3 separate regions of the Homo sapiens genome follow, and regions 2 and 3 are each linked to region 1. The links are contacts of gene promoters, found by promoter capture Hi-C in human tissues and cell types (Jung and others, 2019). All regions are on one chromosome and are shown on one strand. The core of a region is centred on a gene start or on the middle of the fragment in contact, and the rest is flanking DNA. Distances in the headings are between cores, read along the strand shown. Region 1 holds the start of ECD (ecdysoneless cell cycle regulator). Region 2 has its middle 19 kb from the start of MYOZ1. Region 3 holds the start of MYOZ1 (myozenin 1).

What was found. The method cuts DNA at HindIII sites, captures the fragments that hold promoters and counts their contacts. A contact is called where the count stands out against the background at its distance.
Region 2: a contact is called between a fragment that was not itself captured here and the fragment with the promoter of ECD in region 1, in 1 of the 25 tissues and cell types used here (hippocampus).
Region 3: a contact is called between the fragment with the promoter of MYOZ1 here and the fragment with the promoter of ECD in region 1, in 1 of the 25 tissues and cell types used here (adrenal gland).

What each region holds. Positions count from the first base shown.
Region 1 is chr10:73,166,567-73,169,266 of GRCh38, reverse strand. It overlaps ECD (ecdysoneless cell cycle regulator), which reads left to right and starts at 1,259. Exons shown (of 14, transcript NM_007265.3): 1 at 1,259-1,401. FAM149B1 (family with sequence similarity 149 member B1) reads right to left here and starts at 1,148. Exons shown (of 14, transcript NM_173348.2): 1 at 881-1,148. The coding sequence starts at 927. RefSeq lists enhancers at 1-240, 1,135-1,334, 841-1,440 and a silencer at 895-1,084. The HindIII fragment of the contact is 5,079 bases long and covers 1-2,700 here.
Region 2 is chr10:73,620,751-73,623,450 of GRCh38, reverse strand. It overlaps a transcript of USP54 not described here. Among named protein-coding and RNA genes, the nearest start is that of MYOZ1, 19 kb to the left of the region's middle. The HindIII fragment of the contact is 4,845 bases long and covers 1-2,700 here.
Region 3 is chr10:73,640,216-73,642,915 of GRCh38, reverse strand. MYOZ1 (myozenin 1) reads left to right here and starts at 1,442. Exons shown (of 6, transcript NM_021245.4): 1 at 1,442-1,505. The HindIII fragment of the contact is 11,584 bases long and covers 1-2,700 here.

The DNA of each region.
Region 1 (2,700 bases), core at 10-2,509:
TGCAACCTCTGCCTCCCGGGTTCAAGTGATTCTCCTGCCTCATCCTCCCAAGTAGCTGGGTTTACAGGCCCCCGCCTCCATGCCCGGCCATTTTTTTTTTTTTTTTTGCATTTTTAGTAGAGATGGGGTTTCGCCATGTTGGCCAGGCTGGTCTCGAACTCCTGGCCTCAAGTGATCCGCCCGCCTCAGCCTCCCAAAGTGCTGGGATTACAAGCGTGAGCCACCACGGCCGGCCGTGAGGGTGGATCTTTTTAAAGCCAGAAATATTTGCTCTTTAAAGTCTCAAAAGCAAAACTGATCTTTATGGATTCTGGTGCTTAATTGCAGAGGTGGGGAGGCAGTATGTGTGATGGTTATGACCACAGGCTTCGGAATCAGATCGACATCAGGTTTGTACCTCTCAGCTCTACCACCTTCAAGCTGTGTGATCTTTGGCATGCTACAATCTTTAATTCTGGGATCTTTATCTGTAGAATGTGCAAAATAATGTTCCCAATCTGATATCATTGATAGGAATGAGCAAATGTATGTAAATAGCTTTGCACAGTGTCAAGTGAGCACTTTCCTGGAGCCCTCAGTTAGCTATTAATAACTTCTCGAGCTACCATGGCCATTAACAATGGGACCTGAAGCACTGCGGATGCTACAAATGCTTCAGCAGACCCAGTGCTTGATTTCAGGAATTTCAGACGAAGGGCGACACGCCCTCAGCTGGAGATGGAGGAAGAAGGGGCAGGGTCCAGCAGGGCTGAGAGGAGAGAATTCCGAAGAAAAATCTCTCCCCAGCCCTGGGAAAGGAAAGGAACGAAGGACTGGTCAAGGAGGGTCCCCAGAGCGCCCGCCGCCCGCCCCGGCTGGGGTGGCTGAGCAGTCCACTCACAGCTCCAAGCTCTGTGGCACCGCCTTCCGAGTGTATCTGGAGATCATCCTCCTCCTCCTCCTCCTCCTCCTCCTCCTCAGCCGCGGCCGGGGCAGGCACGCCAGGGTGGGGGCCTCCGGGCCTGGCCCTCCCGCCGGCTCCGGCCCGGCCCCTCCCGCCACCTACCGGCCCCGTCTCGCCCCGTCACCTAGACTCCGAGCAGCCACCTCCCCAGGGTCCCCACCTCTCCAGTCCTCCGACCTCCCTGCTTTGCCGCGGGGGCGGAAGTGACGAAGGCCCCCGGACACTCGCAAAATGCTCCCGCCGACGCACAGCAGTGACGACACACAAGGTTTCGGGGACTGAGTGGGTTTCAGACTTTCTCTCAGGATTTCCGCTGGCTTCAGGTTCCGGTCAGGCGTCGGGACAGAGCCTGATCCAGGCTTCGGCGGCCGGTGGCAGCTCTCGATCAGCTCTCGCAGTCGGAGAGGCGGCTAAGGAAAGGTGCCACAGCAGAGACGCGAAGGAGAGGCCCTAGAACCGTAAGAGAAATTGGCTTCATTTTGTTAGATGGCAGGAGGGAGCCTAGACTGGGGAAAGAGCACTAGACTCCAAGTCAAGCCCCTGCTGCTTGGTCGCTTCTTTTTCTGTACTCTGGGTTTTCTCATATGTACAGTGAGGTATTAGCCTGAGTGATCATAGAGTCCCTTCCAGTTCTGACACCAAATTCTGCATGATGACGTGTGTTTGGCGTTATGGGGTGGATGGGTAAAATTACTGTCTGTCCCTCTGGGTTGAAAGGCAAAATGATGATTTGGTTAGACTGTGGTGAGTGGGTGTCTGGATAAGAAGAAGCAGGTTCCTTACGAGTCTCTTAGAAAGCTGAGTAAGATTGGAATCATGGAGTTAGGGTGGTCCATCCACCGCCATTTCTTTCTTTACCAAGCATCACCTGGCAGCAAGAATAAACTAGTACTCTTATTTAGGAAAACCCTTAGAAAATTAAGAGATAAGGAAAACCCTTAGAAAATTAAGAGGTATCAATGCAACCTCCATCAAAATACCAGTGACATTCTTCACAGTCATAGAAAAAAGATCCTAAAATTTATATGGAACCACAAAAGAGCCAGAATAGCCAAAGCTATCCTGAGCAAAAAGAACAAAACTGGAAGCATCACATTACCCGACTTCAGATTATACAACAGAGTTATAGTAACCAAAACAGCATGGCACTGGCATAAAAACAGGAACAGAATAGAGAACCCAGAAACAAATCCATATGTCTGCAGTGAATTCATTTTCAGCAAAGGTACCAAAAACATACATTGGGGAAAAGACAGTCTCTTCAATAAATGATACTGGGAAAACTGATACCCGTATGCAGAAGAATGAAACCAGACCCACTACCTCCCACCATATACAAAAATCAAGTCAAAATGGATTAGAGACTTAAATCTAAGCCCTCAAACTATGAAACTACTAAAAGGAAATATTGGGGAAACTCTCTAGGACATTAGAGTGGGCAAAGATTTCCTGAGTAATACCTCACAAACAGAGGCAGCCAAAACAAAAATGGACAAATGGGAGCACATCAAGTTAAAAAGCTTCTGCACAGCAAAGGAAACAATCAACAAAGTGGAGAGAGAACCCACAGAATGGGAGAAAATATTTGCAAACTACCCATCTGACAAGGGATTAATAACCAAAATATATAAGGAGTTCAAACAACTCTCTAGGAAGCAGTCTAATAATTGATTAAGAATTGGATAAAAACTCTGAATAGACATTTCTCAAAGAAGACATAAAAATGGCAAACAGGTTTATGAAAAGGTGCTCAATAT
Region 2 (2,700 bases), core at 52-2,551, 450 kb before region 1:
TCCTGGGCTCAAGTGATACTCCTGCCTCAGCCTCCCAAAGTAAGAATTTTCTTTTCTCTTTTTTTGAGACAGGGTTTTGCTCTGTTGCCCAGGCTGGAATGCAGTGGTGTCATCACAGCTCACTGCCACCTCAACCTCCTGGGCCCAAGCTTTCCTCCCACCTCAGCCTCCTGAGTAGATAGGACCACAGGTGCATGCAACCACGCGCAGTTAATTATTAAAATTTTTTTTGTAGAGACGAGGTCTTGCTATGTTGCCTAAGCTGGTCTGGCTATGTTACCCAGCAATCCTCCTGCCTTGGCAGCTTGGCTTCCCAAAGCGCTGGGATTACAGGCTTGAGCCACCATGCCCAGCCTAAGAGTTTTCAAAATTACAAAGTGTTAACCAAACTAAACTGTGCTGCCTTAGTGAAACACATAGTAAGTTTCTCAGAAGAGATAAAAGAATGGAAGTTTGAGGAGAAAATTCACTGGTCAGTTCATAATTTAAGCCCTTTTTTTTTTTTTTCTTTAAAGACGAGTTGTCTGTTGCCCAGGCTGGAGTGCAGTGGAGTAATCACGGCTCACTGCAGCCTCAGTCTCCTGGGTTTAAGGAATCCTCTTGCTTTTCAGCCTCTCCAGGAGCTGGGACTACAGGTGCTTGGCTAATTTTTGTACTTTTTCTAGAGACAGGATCTCCCTATGTTGCCCATGCTGATCTCAAGCACCTGGGCTCAAGTGATCCTCCCACCTCAGCCTCCCAAAATGCTGGGATTATAGGCGTGAGCCACCTCGCTGGTCCTATTAGTCTTTTTTAGTACTCCTTTACTGTAGATGTAAATAAATACGGACCAGGCACGGTAGCTCAGGCCTGTCATCACAGCACTTTGGGAGGCTGAGGTGGGCGGATCAGTTGAGGTCAGGAGTTTGAGATCAGCCTGGCCAACATGGTGAAACCCCATCTCTACTAAAAATACAAAAATTAGCTGGGCATGGTGATGCCTGCCAGTAATTCCAGCCACTCGGGAGGCTGAGGCAGGAGAATCGCTTGAACCCAGGAAGCGGAGGTTACAGTGAACCGAAATCATGCCACTATACTCCAACCTAGGCAACAGGCAAGATTCTGTCTCAAAATAAATAAATAAATAAATAAATAAATAAATAAATAAATATTACAACAGTCTTAAGGCAATAATAATAATAGATAACATTCATTGAGTGATTATTAATGTGCCAGGCACATTATCTCATTTTATCTTATAACAACACTCTGCTCTGCAGCTGGTACTAGTTACTTTAAAGAAAACCAAGGCTTAAAAAGTTCAGGAAGTTACCAAAGATTATTGAGCTAGTAGATGGTAGAATAGAGATTGGTGTGGGAAATTTATGTGATTCTAATATACTAAGAAAGATTTCTTTCTTTTGTAGGGAAGGAGGGAGTCTTGGTATGGAGGAAGTGGGGAGAGGTTGCAGGTGGAACTGGCCAGGACACCAGAATTCTGGGTGGGACTTGGAAGGTATAAATGGATAGGGGTATCTGTTTTTTTACTCATACATTTTCTCCCTCAGATATTTACACTACCTATGGGGAACTAATGTGAATGTTAGCATGGTGCTAAATACAAAATTTGTATTGTTATATAGAGAATTGAGTAAATTACCAAATTTCTGCTGTGTATAATTGTATAGGGAGCTATGCTTGGGAAAATAGTTGTAGCAAGCAATTATATATTTGTAAGCTTCCAGCAAGTGATCATTTTAGTAGTGGAAATGGTTATCTGTATTCATATATAGGGGAAATGTTATTACAACAGACTTTAAGGCATTTAGTCAAACATATTTTCATACAGTAGTTTTTTTTTTTTTTTTTTTTGAGACGGAGTGTCCCTGTGTCGCCCAGGCTGGAGTACAGTGGCGCAATCTTGGCTCACTGCAAGCTCCGCCTCCTGGGTTCATGCCATTCTTCTGCCTCAGCCTCCTGAGTAGCTGGGATTACAGGTGCCCGCCACCATGCCCGGCTATTTTTTGTATTTTTAGTAGAGACAGGGTTTCATTATATTAGCCAGGATGGTCTTGATCTCCTGACCTTGTGATCTTCCCGTCTCGGCCTCCCAACGTGCTGGGATTACAGGCGTGAGCCACTGTGCCCCGCCTTCATACTGTAGTTTTTTTATATTGAGAAAAATGTATGTATGTGTCACATGTTTTTATATATTTGCTTTCAGGTTTTTTTTTTCACTCTATATTCCAAAGTCCAAAGTACGGTTTTCTGGTTGAAATTCAAATTTTACATCTTTGTATTATTTGTTTGTTTTTTGAGACAGAGTCTTGCTCTGTCACCCAGGCCGGAGTGCAGTGGCACAATCTTGGCTCATTGCAACCTCTGCTTACCAGGTTCAAGCGATTCTCCTGCCTCAGCCTCCTGAGTAGCTGGGATTACAGGCACGTGCCACCGAGCTCAGCTAATTTTTGTATTTTTAGTAGAGACGGGGTTTCGCCATGTTGGCCAGGGTGGTCTCCAACTCCTGACCTTGGGCGATCCACCCGCCTCAGCCTCCCAAAGTGCTGGGATTACAGTGGTGAGCCACCGCATCCGACCTGTTTGTTTGAGACAGAGTTTTGCTCTTGGCCTCAGCCTCCGGAGTAGCTGGGATTACAGGTGCCCGCCACCACACCCAGATAATTTTTTGTATTTTTGGTAGAGACAGGGTTTCACCATGTT
Region 3 (2,700 bases), core at 193-2,692, 470 kb before region 1:
CAGAGAGCCTGTAATCCCAGCACTTCGGGAGGCTGAGATGGATGGATCACGAGGTCAGGAGATCGAGACTATCCTGGCTAACACGGTGAAACCCCATCTCTACTAAAAATACAAAAAAAAATTTAGCCGGGCGTGTTGGTGGGCGCCTGTAGTCCCAGCTACTCGGGAGGCTGAGGCAGGAGAATGGCGTGAACCTGGGAGGTGGAGCTTGCAGTGAGCCGAGATTGCGCCACTGCACTCCAGCCTGGGCAACAGAGCGAGACTCCGTCTCAAAAAAAAAAAAAAAAAAGAAGAAGAAAAGAAACCTCAGAGAGCCTATATGTGCTTCTCAGGGAGACATCGATGTCTATCCCGCACAGCAGGTTGAACTGAGCATCTCAACAGCAAATGGAGGTTAAAAGGCAGATCCTGGCTGGGCGTGGTGGCTAGAGAATAACTCCTTAGAGACCAGATCCTGGCGGTGGCTCACGCCTGTAATTCCAACATTTTGCGAGGCCAATGTGGGTGGATCACCTGAGGTCAGGAGTTTGAGACCAGCCTGGCCAACGTGGTGAAACCCCGTCTCTACTAAAAATACAACAATTAGCCGGGCATGGTGGTGGACACCTGTAATCCCAGCTACTCAGTAGGCTGAGGCAGGAGAATTGCTTGAACCCAGGAGGTGGAGGTTGCAGTGAGCCGAGATCGCACCACTGCACTCCAGCCTGGGCAAAAAGAGCGAAACTCCATCTCAAAAAAAAAAAAAAAAAAATGCAGATCCAAGTGTTTGTCTTTTATTAAAACTGCCAGAGCTCAAGAGGAAAGAATAGGGAGTGAGGCAGACAGAATAATTGTCAAGTCTTCCCCACATCATTCCTTTGTAGGAGGTACTGGGTTTAGTTAATTTGGTCCCTTAACCTGCCAAGATCTAGCCCTTACCGAGAAAAGACCAACCTATCCAGGAACTTTAAAAGAGCAGTTCCACTGTGAAGACTTCCCTTTTTGTCCCCAAATATAGCACTTTAAGCCCTCCCTGCTCCAAATACACCCACAGGTCTCTCCACTCTGCCCTGGATTGGCTCTGTGTGGCCCTCAGGGCATGTTCCCCAGACTCTCTCTCTCTGACTGAATTCCTATCCAATACTTGCTGTCTACTTCCTGTCTCCCTCTCAGTCTTCAGTTTCTCCCTAAGTGCTTCTTTGGATCTCAGGCTCTAGGTGCAATGTGAAGGGGAGTCCCTGGGCAGACTGATCCCTGGCTCAGACAGTTCAGTGGGAGAATCCCAAAGGCCTTTTCCCTCCTTCCTGAGCCTCCGGGCAAGGAGGGAGGGATCTTGGTTCCAGGGTCTCAGTACCCCCTGTGCCATTTGAGCTGCTTGCGCTCATCATCTCTATTAATAACCAACTTCCCTCCCCCACTGCCAGTGCTGCCCCCACGCCTGCCCAGCTCGTGTTCTCCGGTCACAGCAGCTCAGTCCTCCAAAGCTGCTGGACCCCAGGGAGAGCTGACCACTGCCCGAGCAGCCGGTAAGTCTCCAGCTCTATCGTTAGAAAGGCTGGAGCCCACTGTGTTGACTTCTGTGTCTGTGTCTACAATTGTGATTCTTGATCCTGGGGGAGTCTCCCCTCTCCTCATCTATGCTCAGCTCCCAGCTGTCCAGTTGGAAGGAGAGGGGAAGGAGAGTTGGAAGGAGAGGGGCCCAGGAGGTTGGGGGGAATGGAGATGTCGGGGGAGGCACTGGAAGAATGGGAAGGGAGACCCCACTAAGTCAGTAGAGTTGCAGATGTATTTTTTGAGACAGGACTTAGAAGAGGACAGCATTTCACTGAGTGCCAACTTCTCTTAAGAAGGGATTGGAGTCCATCTTATCCCAGTTTGTCCCTTTCCATTGCCAGATCCTATTACTATGTTTCTGCCCCACCTCAATTCCCCACTGCTATGATATTGCTGAATTGACGTGTCGGGATTTGAATGCTCCCTACCCTTCCCAGTTCCACACCTGCCTCCACTCTGGGGTCTGTGGCGGGAGTGATTGCAGGAGCAGGGCCATGACTTCCCAGGCCATGTTCCAGCTGGCCTGATGAAGGAGCAACAACCTCTCCTTCCTATGGAGAGTGTTTTTGGCTGAATCTCCTCAACCCTGGCAGAATATTTCTCTGTCCTCCTGGGGACTGGGGGAAGACTGAGGAGAGACCAGAGCCTGGAATCACAGCCCCAGTCTGATATCCCAGTGCAAATAAAAACTTCAAATCATGCCAAGCCAATGAAACCTGGGTGCATTGCCCTGCTTGTGTTATTGTTTTTTAAACACTCCCCACACCTAGCTATGTTCCTAATTCCTGCACTGACTCTATGAAAAACAGCTCACAACAGGTTGGTAGACAACAGGGGCTGGTGTGCATCTATACTTCCTGTCCTGTATCCCAAGAAAAGAGAAGCCCTAAAGCGCAAGTTTTCACCTTTTGGGGAAATACATGCTTCTTTGAAAATCTGGGTCAGGTGAAGTGGCTCACCCCTGTAATCTCAGCACTTTGGGAGGCAGGAGGACTGCTTGAGCCCAGGAGTTTGAGACCAGCCTGGGCAACATGGCAAAACCACATTTCTACAAAAAATACAAAAATTAGCCAGGCACGGTGGTGCGCACCTATAGTCCCAGCTACTTGGGAGGCTGAAGTTGGAGGATCACCTGAGCCCAGGGAGGTTGAGGCTGCAGTGAGGCAT